Linked DNA regions of Homo sapiens: region 2 is linked to region 1. The links are contacts of gene promoters, found by promoter capture Hi-C in human tissues and cell types (Jung and others, 2019). All regions are on one chromosome and are shown on one strand. The core of a region is centred on a gene start or on the middle of the fragment in contact, and the rest is flanking DNA. Distances in the headings are between cores, read along the strand shown.

Region 1 (5,464 bases), core at 1-2,500:
TATCCCTACCTGAACACATGCAGACACACAACACAAATCACACACAGTCACACGGGATTCACACACAAAGAGAGACAAATCCCAATACTCACAAAGGAGAAACAGACAAACCTCACACACGTGCACACATAAATATCTACTGAAAAAGACAAATATCCCAAGTTCCATAGTGTGGAGACAAATCACACAAATAACCATGCACAAAGACACATCACATATCCACAGACACACACCAGAAACACATCACCCACACAAAGACACACAACATGGAAACATCACACCACACACACATACACCCCCTCATGCATCCAAAGACACAAGCATGTCAAAAGACAGGAACTACAGAAACCACTTGCGCCCCTAGGCACTTACCCATGTATCCAAAGACACAACACAAACCACACACACAATATCCAGACACACAACACAAAGAAATCACACAGATTCACACAGGTACACACACACATTTACAAAGATGCACGATGCGCAACCAGTATCTAAAATATCACACATCCACACAGACACACACACATATAAAACACAGAAACAGCCAAATCCACCCATAGTCACACAAAAATTTACACACAAATACACGCAGCCCTACATACCCAAAAACACAGAACACAAGACAAATGACATATAGTTCCAAAGGACACGGACACACACTGGGAGACCCAAATATCCAAAGATATCTAGTGCAGAATAAAAGGAAACAGACACATGTCCACACACCTATCCCCCAAAAATTCTTAAAAAAACCAGAACACAAATAAGTGATACACACACACACTCCACATCCCAAGACAAAGGTAGTGTGGACTTCACTCCAGTTGCCAAGGCCCCCGCACCCCCGGGTCATTTCAGTCTCTCCCAGACCCGAGGGTTGCAGGGAAGGGATGATGTCTCCCTTCCCCAAAAAGAATCTGGAGGCCCCCCACGCCCTCCACCCCGCCAGGGAGCGGTGCATCCGACACCATTCTTGTCAGAGACCCACAGTCACACACTCTCGCACCCCCGCGCAGCCCCGCACTCGGTGACAGCCCCCCAGACACCCCTTCGGCCCCACCCCCGGTCGCCACACACACACAGGCCCGCGTAGACCCGCCCGCGCTTCCTCTCCGCCTCCCGCCGGCCCGCACCACCTCAGGGGGCCAGGGATGACAGTGGCCATCTTGCTCCCCGGGTCCTGCCCCCAGCAGGTCCCCGCCGGGTCGGTCCTCCCAGCGGTCGGGCGGGCGCTGAGGCCGCCCATCCATTCATTCCCGGGGGGCGGGAGCACGAGGGCCACGGCCAATCGCGGCGACGGGGCGGGCCCGCCCGGGCCATGCTGGGAGTGGTAGTCCCAGGCCAGGGGGCCCCCGGGACCCCGCGGGGACGGGACGGCGCGGAGGAGGGGCCCGGGGCACGCACCGTCACTCACCCGCCCTCACTCGTCCACATATCCTGCTCTCGCGTGCACACAACCACATGCACACCTGGACTCGCACACGCCCACGCATGGCAGTTTACACACACATTCACGCGGATACTCACAGCCTCCCACACACTCCTACTCACACACCTTCGCACGGACTCACACAGCCACACGCACACACACTGCAATACTAAGAGACGCAGAGACACCTCCCAGGTGCCCACACAGACTTCTCACCAACATGCTTCCAGCAGACACCCCCTCACCGCCCCCCACCCAAGTCCCTCCTGGCTCCAGAGACCCCACCCGGGGCTGTCTCTCCCAGCAGCCACGCTCACGGTCACCCCGCCCTGCTCAACGCCTTCTGCAGGCCTGACAGCAGCAGTGCAGGTTAGAAACAGTAGTCACACCTCCAGGGTTCAAATCCTAGCTCTGCCACTTGGTGGCCATGTGACCTTGGCAAATGACTTAACCTTTCTGGGCCTCAGTTTCCTCATCTGTAAAAAGAGGATGATGCCTCACTGGAGTGTTGTGAGGATTAAATGAGTAAATATAGGTAAAGCATTTTAAGAGGTGACTGGCAGGCCAGGCGCAGTGGCTCACACCTGTAATCCCGGCACTTTGGGAGGCCCAGGCAGGTGGATCACCTGAGGATGGGAGTTCGAGACCAGCCTGGCCAACATGGTAGTAGTCTCTACTAAAAATACAAAATTAGCCGGGCATGGTGGCGCATGCTTATACTCCCCCACTCAGGAGGCTGAGGCAGGAGAATCACTTGAACTCAGGAGGTGGAGGTTGCAGTGAGCTGAGATCGTGCCATTGCACTCCAGCCTGGGCAACAAGAGTGAGACTCCCTCTCAAAAATAAATAAATAAATAATAAGAAAGAAAGAATAATGCGGCCAGGTGCGATGGCTCCAGTCTGCAATCCCAGTACTTCGGGAGGCCTAGATGAGAGCACTGCTTGAGCCCAGGAGTTTGAGACCAACCTGGGCAACATATCCAGACCCCTGTGTCTACAAAAAAAAATTAAAATTAGCTGGGCATGATGGCGCAGCAGTGTAGTCCCAGCTACTTGCAAGGCTAAAGTGGGAGGATAGCTTGAACCTGGGAGGCTGAGGCTGCAGTGAGCTGTGGTCTCACCACTGCACTCCAGCCTGGGTGGCAGAGCGAGACTCTGTCTCTAAAAGCAAACAAACAAACAAACAAACAAACAAAAAACTAAGTAAGCAGGGCGCCGTGACTCATGCCTGTAATCCCAGCAATCTGGGAGGCTGAGATGAGAGGACCGCTTGAGCTCAGGAGAACAGCCTGGGCAACATAGCGAGACCTGGTCTCTACTAAAAAAAAAATAAATAGCTGGGCATGGTGGCACATGCCTATGGTCCCAGCTACTCAGGAGGCTGAGTCAGGAGGATTGGTTGAACCCAGGAGATCGAAGCTGCAGTGAGCTATGATCACACCACTACACTCCAGCCTGGACAACTGAGCAAGACCCTGTCTCCAAAAAAAAAAAAAAAAATAGATGCTCAGTAGATATTTGTTGAATGAGTAAATGCACCCATCATGTGCTGGGCACAGTTCACCCCGGGATGCTTTTATTATCTGCATTTTCCAGGTGAGGAATCTGAGGCACAGGAAGGTAACCTCACATGCCCGCATGCCCTGGCGGCTCTTTGAAGGTAAGACTGAAGGAAGGAGGCAGGCACCCCTGACGGCCCTCCCCAAGTAGTCCTGACCTCCTTCTCTCTCCCACTGTCACCCACACTGACTCCACCCGAAGAGATCCCCAGGGAGTGAGCAGACCCACTGAGTCACAAACTGACCCAGTCTCTCTGCAACACCACCACCCCGTCCCCCCTCCCGTCTCACCCCTCCTCCCCCTTTCCCCTTCCCACCCCTTCTCCCCCTTTCCCCTTCCCCTCTTCCACCCGGACCCCTGTAGAGCCAGCATTCAAATTTGGGCGGCTGCTGTAATTAACACGCCCACAAACGCCCTCATCCACCAGGGGGCGCCCCAGCCGACAGAAGTGGCCCGCTAGCCTTCACCATTTTTGTCACTTGAAATCCCCCCAAGAGAGAGATCCAGTCAAGGCCTCCTACACTCACGGTCACTTCTACACACACACACACACACACACACACACACACACACTCCTCTAGTCTTAGACCCTTTCCACAAACTCGCCCATCTAAGCCAGGTAAGGTCTTGGCCGGCCCCTCTCCTGGAACAGGAGGTAGGTCTCTGATTCACATATGGCCTGGAGTGGTGACAAGGGGATTAAGTGAGGGGCACTGACACCCCTACGATCACTCTGGCCTCCAGGGCCCTATAGTGGCCACCTCACACCTTACCCACGGTGAGCTGTGACCCCACCTTCCTCTCTCACCTCCCATTAGCTCACAGGTCCCGTAACACACCCTCTTACACTTGATTCCCACACCGCTAGCCTCAGACACGCAGACTCACTCCTGCCCCACCCCAAACTCTCATGTCGATTTGATTAAGAGAAGCCCGAGTGTAGACACTGAGTGCAGACCTTCCTAACAGTCCTCCTCTACCAGCAGAATTTCTATTTTTCTTTCTTTTCTTTTCTTCTTTTATTTCTCTTCCTTCCTTCCTTCCTTCCTTCCTTCCTTCCTTCCTTCCTTTCTTTCTTTCTTTCTTTTCTTCTCTTTCTTTCCTCTTTCTCTTTTTCTCTTTTTTTTTTTTGGACAGCGTCTCACTCGATGGCCCAGGCTGGAGTGCCATGGCATGAACACAGCTCGCTGCAGCCTCCACCTCCCAGGCTCAAGCGATCCTCCCACCTCAAACCCCCAAGTAGCTGGGACTACAGGCCTGTGCCACCGCACCCGGCTAATTTTTGTATTTTTGTAAAAACAGGGTGTCCCTGTGTTGGCCAGGCTAGTCTCAAACTCCTAAGCTCAAGTGATCTGCCCACCCTGCCCTCCCAAAGTGCTGAGATTACAGGCATAAGCCACCATGCCCGGCCCACCAGCAGGATATCTACCCACAGACGCAGGCTGACACTTGCAGCGGGCTCTCCTTTCTTTCCTTCTGCCCTAACCACCTGCACACACCACTCCCACATACTCTCCTACACACTTGAACTCCCAGTCCTCTCCCTGGCCCAAACAATCCTCCTGCCCCATCCCCCAATGCCCTGTGTGGGAGCTGGCCCACAGTAGAAATCAATTTCATAAATCAATATTGATACTACTAATAATAATCACTACATTTGGTCAGTGTCAGTCTCTGTGCTAACTGCTTTACAAAGATGGCCTTAGCCCCACGACAGTCCCATCGGGTGGTAAGGGCTGTTAGAAGCCCCCATACACAGATGGCAAAACTGAGGCTCACGGCAGGGAACATTCGTGGCTCAAGCTGGTTTTGGAACTCAGGCAGTCGGAACTTCCGAGGGCGGCACCCTGCAGCTCCTTCTCCCCAGGGGATTTGACTCACATTCTTTCAGGAGCCAGGGAGTCCCCACCTTCACCCCCACAGAGACCTTTTGGAAGGGAAGGGCACAGAGGGGTAGGGCCCTCCCAGTCCAGGCTTACTGTAGCTGGGCCCCTGCTCACGGCTGTAGCACACCTCCTCCCAGGGGTCTGGGCCAGGGTCAGGGTGAGGGGCCCCATCGCCTGTAGATCCACCAACCTGCACAAGAGCCCCGTTCCCAGCCATTTTGCGGATGTCCCCTCACAGGAGAGACAGCTGTCTGTGTGTGCCACTTAGGGTGAGAGGGCAGCAGAGGGGTGTCACCATCATACACCACCTCACACGGACCCGAGCCCCACACACCCGCTCCCGGCACCCTGCTCACGGCGAAGCCACACGTGTAGGCGCTTGCCTCTAAGTCCCTGCCCCCCTTCCTCTCCCAACTCCCACCCTCCACCTCCCACCCCCATTCCCGCCAGAAACCAGAAGCAACTGGCGGCCTCTGGTCCAGCCAGCAGGCGCATCCCTTCTCGTGGGTGGGGTAGGGGGGCGCTCCCTCTCTCCCTCTCTCCCCCCACCCCCCACCCCCGCCCCCAGCCCTCGATGTTCAAG
Region 2 (5,483 bases), core at 2,152-4,651, 110 kb after region 1:
AAGCTGGTCTCGAACTCCAGATCTCAAGTGATCCACCCGCCTCGGCCTCCCAAAGTGCTGGGATTACAGGTGTGAGCCACCACACCTGGCCACAATAGGTCTTATATCTTACGGTGTCTCCTCTAGGACACATTTCCCATAAATAATTTCAACATCCCCTGTTGATGATACGTGGGTGTTTTCCAGTCTTTTGCTGGTACAACAATGCTACAGCAAACATCTTATGGTTTAAGATCTAATGAAGGGATCGAATGAGGCAGGAGTTCAAGACCACCCTGGGCAACATAGCAAGACCCTCCCTGTACAAAAAATTTAAAAATTAGCTGGGTGTGGTGGAACACCAGCTAGTCAGGAGGCTGCGGCAGGAGGATCACTTGAACCCAGGTGTTTGGGACTAGCTTGGACATCATGTGAGACCTCATCTCTGCTGGACATGGTGGCTCATGTCTGTAATTCCAGCACTTTGGGAGGCCGAGATGGGAGGATTGCTTGAGGCCAGGAGTTTTAGACCAGACTGGTCAAAATGGTGAGACCCCATCTCTATTTTTTTTTTTTTTTAAAAGATGAATAAAGGTCGGGTGCAATGAAGCACATCTGTAATCCCAGCACTTTGGGAGGCTGAAGCGGGTGGATCGCTTGAGGTCAGGAGTTCGAGACCAGCCTGGCCAACATGGTGAAACTTTGTCTCTACTAAAAATATAAAAATTAGTCGGGTACGGTGGCAGATGCCTGTAATCCCAGCTACTCAGGAGGCTGAGGCAGGAGAATTGCTTGAAACGGGGAGGTGGAGGTTGCAGTGAGCTGTGATGGCACCACTGCACTCCAGCCTGGGCGACAGAGTGAGACTTTGTCTCAACAAAAAAAAAAAAAAAAAAAGGGAAAAAAAGAAGATGAAAAAGAAACCCCCATCTCTAAAAAAAAAAAAGTAAAAATAAAACAAATTAACTGGATATGATGACTCGCATCTGCAGTTCCAGCTACTTGGGAGGCTGACATGGGAAGATCACTTGAGCCTGGGAGTTCGAGGCTGCAGCGAGCAATGATTGCGCCACTCCACTCCAGCCTGGGTGAGAGAGTGAGACCCCGTTTCTAAAAAAACAAAATAAAAAAAAAAGGGCTCTGGTACATGGCTACTGAGTTTCTTCCCCTAGAAGATGTCACCGTTCCCTAGCCTGCGGGGGTGGGCTGGGGTGGGAAGGATAGACCACCATCATCGGTTCATTTACATAAAACAACTATTATATGCGGTGCCTGGCAGGGCTGGGGGACAACAGAGGCAGAGAAAGCCATACACCCTGCCCTCACGGAGCTTGTGATCCAGTGGAAAAGAAACACCCATTTCCAGTCATGAGTGGCCTAGAGGGGCCAAGAGGTAGGATGAGGGCTGGTCATGTATCACAGAGAAGACCTAAAGGAAGGAAAGTGGTGGGCCCTGTTAAAAAGCATGGAATGGTATTCCAGAGGGCATTACTGAGTCTGCACAGGTCTGGAGCATGCATGGCTCACACCTGACCAAGGATATTCAAGTCGCTCCATGTGACCAGACTGTGGACCACAGAGGTCTAAGGGGGAGAGGGCAGATGAGCCAGATAGAATGACAGGGAGGAGAGTATGAGGGGCTCTGGAAACCGAGGGGTTTGGAAGTTTTCCTGAGGGCCTAGAGGGTCATGGAAGGTTCTAGAGCACTGGTTCTCAAGGTGTGGTCTCCAGACCACTAGTATCAGCATCACCTAGGAACTTGCCAGAAATACAAATTATCAGGCCCCACTCCAGATCTACTGAATGAAAAATTCTGGAAGTAGCCAGGTAGTTACTCAGGAGGCTGAGATGGGAGGCTCACATGAGGCCTGAAATTCAAGGCTAACCTGAGATAGGGTGTTGCTCTTTTGCCCAGGCTGAAATGCAGTGGTGTGATCACAGCTCACTGCATTTCCGTGTATTTCAGAGCTCACTGCAGCCTCAAACTCCTGGGCTCAAGTGGTCTTCCTGCCTCAACCTCCCAGGTAGCTGGGGTCACAGGGATGGACCACCACACTGGGCTAATTTAAAAAAATTGTTAGCAACAGGGTCTTACCATATTGCCCAGGCTGGCCTCAAGCGATCCTCCTACCTCAGCCTCCCAAAGTACTGGGATTACAGGTGTGCAGCACCACATCTGGCTTAATTTTTTTTTTTTTTTTTGAGACAGGGTCTCATTCTGTCGCCCAGGCTGGAGTGCAGTGGAGGGATCTCGGCTCACTGCAACCTCCGCCTCCTGGGTTCAAGCAACTCCTGCCTCAGCCTCCCGAGTAGCTGGGATTACAGGTGCCCGCCGCCATGCCCGGCTAATTGTTGTATTTTTTGGTAGAGACAAGGTTTTATCATGTTGGCCAGGCTGGTATCCAACTTCAGACCTCAAGTGATCCGCCTGCCTCAGCTTTCCAAAGTGCTGGGATTATAGGCATGAGCCACTATGCCCAGCCAGAGACTCCATCTTTAAAACAAAAACAAAAACTCAGGGTGTGGTACCCACCAACCTGGCTTACCCAGCCTTTTAGGTGAGTCTAATGCATGCTCAAATTTGAAAACCACTGGGTTAAACGTCTGGTCTGGAGTTCATCAAAAAGTCATGGCCTGAATCCTTACCTGTAAGGCATCAGAATGCAAATGAAAATTAACTTAATGAATATTTTACTTGAGCCGGGCACACTTCCCACAACAGTATAGGATGGCTGTCCTTGTCCTGTTTTGTAGAGGACGGTGCTAAGCAGCCTATTCATTCTCACAAGGTCTCCAGGAAACCACACTTTTTTAAGGAGTAGAATTTTGGGGTAGGGCCGGGCGCAGTGGCTCACGCCTGTAATCCCAGCACTTTGGGAGGCCGAGGCGGGTGGTTCGCCTGAGGTCAGGAGTCGAGACCAGCCTGGCCAACATGATGAAACCCCGTTTCTACTAAAAATACAAAAAATAAATTAGCCAGGCGTGGTGGCGGGAGCCTATAATCCCAGCTACTCGGGAGGCTGAGGCAGGAGAATCGCTTGAATCCGGGGCAGGGGCGCGGAGGTTTCAGTGAGCCGAAATCGCGCCACTTCACACTCCAGCCTGGGAGAAAGAGCGAAACTCCGTCTCAAAAAAATATATATATATATATATTTGGGTAGGAAGCACAAGTAGGGACCGTGCTTGCTGCCAGAACAACCAATAGAAACTCCTTGAAGGCCTTCCTGGCACAAACGTAGTCTCCAGCACCCTCTGCCGACCAGGCCCCGCGCCCTCAGTGCTGAGACAGCCTCCAGCCCTCGGTGCCTTAGGGGTTGCGCGTCACCTTGGAGACCGCGTGAGAGGAGGGCGTGCCTCTGCAAAGGCGGAAGTCGGCTGTGGAAGTGTGGGCGGCCATTTTGAGACCGGGCAAGAGGGGCGGGACTGGTGCGGCCGAGTGACAGTTGACCGGTTTTAACCAAGTGACTGGTACCACGGGGCCGGGGAAAAAGCTGTGCCATCCAGGGGCGGGGGGATGCCGGGGACGGGGAGGAACTAGGAAGGGGAGGGGAAGGGGAAGGCGAGAAGGGGAGAGGCAGGGGAAAGAGGGGAAGAGTCGTGGGAGCTGGGAGAGGAGGGAAAGAGGGGAAGAGTCGTGGGAGCTGGCAGAGGAGGGAAAGGGGGAGCCGAACGTGAAGGGCGAAGGGCGGGGCGGGGCAGGAGAGTCGGGGTATAGAGCAGGCAGGTGTTAATGGCATGGGAAGGAAGAGTAAGAAGTGGGGCAAGAAGGTGTCGCGGTACGAGGGGAAGGTGAGACTCAAGAAGGTGCCGGCTAAGAAGCTGGTGCCGGCGTGGAAGGAGAAGGTGTGGGGCGAGGAAACAACGAAGGGCGAGGAAAGATCCCGAGGCGAAGAGACAGTTTTCATCGAGAAGGGGCAGGGCGAGGAGGAGGGGCGTTACCAGAGGGCGGGACGGGGCGACGGGCCCGCGCGGGAAGAACCAATCGCCGAGAACCCGGGGAAGGAACGGGTCCATAAAGACCAAGTGGAGGAGTAGGGGCGCGGTCAGGAGCGGAAGCAGAGTGAGGAGCAAGCCCCGGGCGAGAAACGGGGGCCCGGCCGGGAGCAAGAGCAGGGGCGGGGCCGGGAGCAAGAGCAGGGGCGGGGCCCGGAGACGGGCGAGACCAGGTACAGTACCCAGCCCCTGGGCAGACCCCGAGCGAGGAGAAAGCGGCGATACCAAGAGAAGTGCGAGGGTGGGGCAAGAGGTTGGGGCACAGCCGGGTGGAAGTACACGGGTGCGATCGCAGGCAGAAGCAGTACGGGGGAACTTAAGAGGGGGACTGTCAAAGCGAGAAATAGAAACCAAGACCAGGTGAAGAGCAAGAGTGGAATACAGGGAGGGGGCGGAATAAGGAGCAAGGTGAGGATAAAGTTAAAGGAAGAGACGTGGAGGCGGCGGGGCGGAACGAGGCGGAGGAGCAGGGGTGTGGCCAGAAACATTAGTAGGGCTGGGGCCCGGAGCAATAGCAGAGGTGCGATACCCACGAGGGTCGGGGGCAGGGCCAGGAGCAAGAGCAGGGGCGGGACCAGGAGCAAGTGCAGAGGCGGAGCCAGGAACAAGAGCAGAGGCGGGGCTAAAAGTCCGTGCGGGGGCAGGGCCAGGAGCAAGAGCAGGGGCGGGACCAAGAGCAAGTGCAGGGGCGGGGCCAGGAGCAAGAGCCGGGGCGTGGCCAGGAGCAAGTGCTGTGAGAGGCGCAGAAGCGAGGTGGAATCTTAAAAGTGGGCTCCAGAGAGCTGTCCGGCGCGTGGGTGTTGACTCCTGCGTTCTCCAGGTTCTAGCCACGTTATGTGCGGCCCAGCCATGTTCCCTGCCGGTCCTCCGTGGCCCAGAGTCCGAGTCGTGCAGGTGCTGTGGGCCCTGCTGGCAGTGCTCCTGGCGTCGTGGAGGCTGTGGGCGATCAAGGATTTCCAGGAATGCACCTGGCAGGTTGTCCTGAACGAGTTTAAGAGGGTAGGCGAGAGTGGTGTGAGCGACAGCTTCTTTGAGCAAGAGCCCGTGGACACAGTGAGCAGCTTGTTTCACATGCTGGTGGACTCACCCATCGACCCGAGCGAGGTGAGGGGACCAGGGTCAAGTGAACCAGAGGGATTTTGAACCCGCACTCCACTCATTTCTGGACGTGTGGCCTAACCTCTCTTTGCAGAAATACCTGGGCTTCCCTTACTACCTGAAGATCAACTACTCCTGCGAGGAAAAGGTGAGTGGGTGCAGCACGGATAGGCTCATTCTATGAGCCTTGGTTTTCCCACCTCTAACATTTTTATTTATTTATTTATTTTATTTTTTTGAGACGGAGTCTTGCGCTGTTGCCCAGACTGGAGTGCAGTGGCGCGATCTCGGCTCACTGCAACCTCCGCCTCCCGTGTTCAAGCGATGCTCCTGCCTCGGCCTCCCAAGTAGCTGGAACTACAGGCATGTGACACCACGCCCGGCTAATTTTTGTATTTGGTAGAGACAGGGTT

The links. Contacts are between HindIII fragments. The study calls those that stand out against the background at their distance.
Region 2: a contact is called between the fragment with the promoter of CATSPERG here and the fragment with the promoter of DPF1 in region 1, in 1 of the 25 tissues and cell types used here (liver).

The regions. Positions count from the first base shown.
Region 1 is chr19:38,222,972-38,228,435 of GRCh38, forward strand. DPF1 (double PHD fingers 1) reads right to left here and starts at 1,251. Exons shown (of 12, transcript NM_001135155.3): 1 at 1,143-1,251. The coding sequence starts at 1,171. RefSeq lists a silencer at 1,016-1,585 and an enhancer at 4,508-5,278. The HindIII fragment of the contact is 15,736 bases long and covers 1-5,464 here.
Region 2 is chr19:38,332,429-38,337,911 of GRCh38, forward strand. CATSPERG (catsper channel auxiliary subunit gamma) reads left to right here and starts at 3,402. Exons shown (of 29, transcript NM_021185.5): 1 at 3,402-3,447; 2 at 4,793-5,076; 3 at 5,165-5,218. The coding sequence starts at 4,807. RefSeq lists enhancers at 3,141-3,435, 3,240-3,449 and silencers at 3,570-3,649, 4,020-4,189. The HindIII fragment of the contact is 10,217 bases long and covers 1-5,483 here.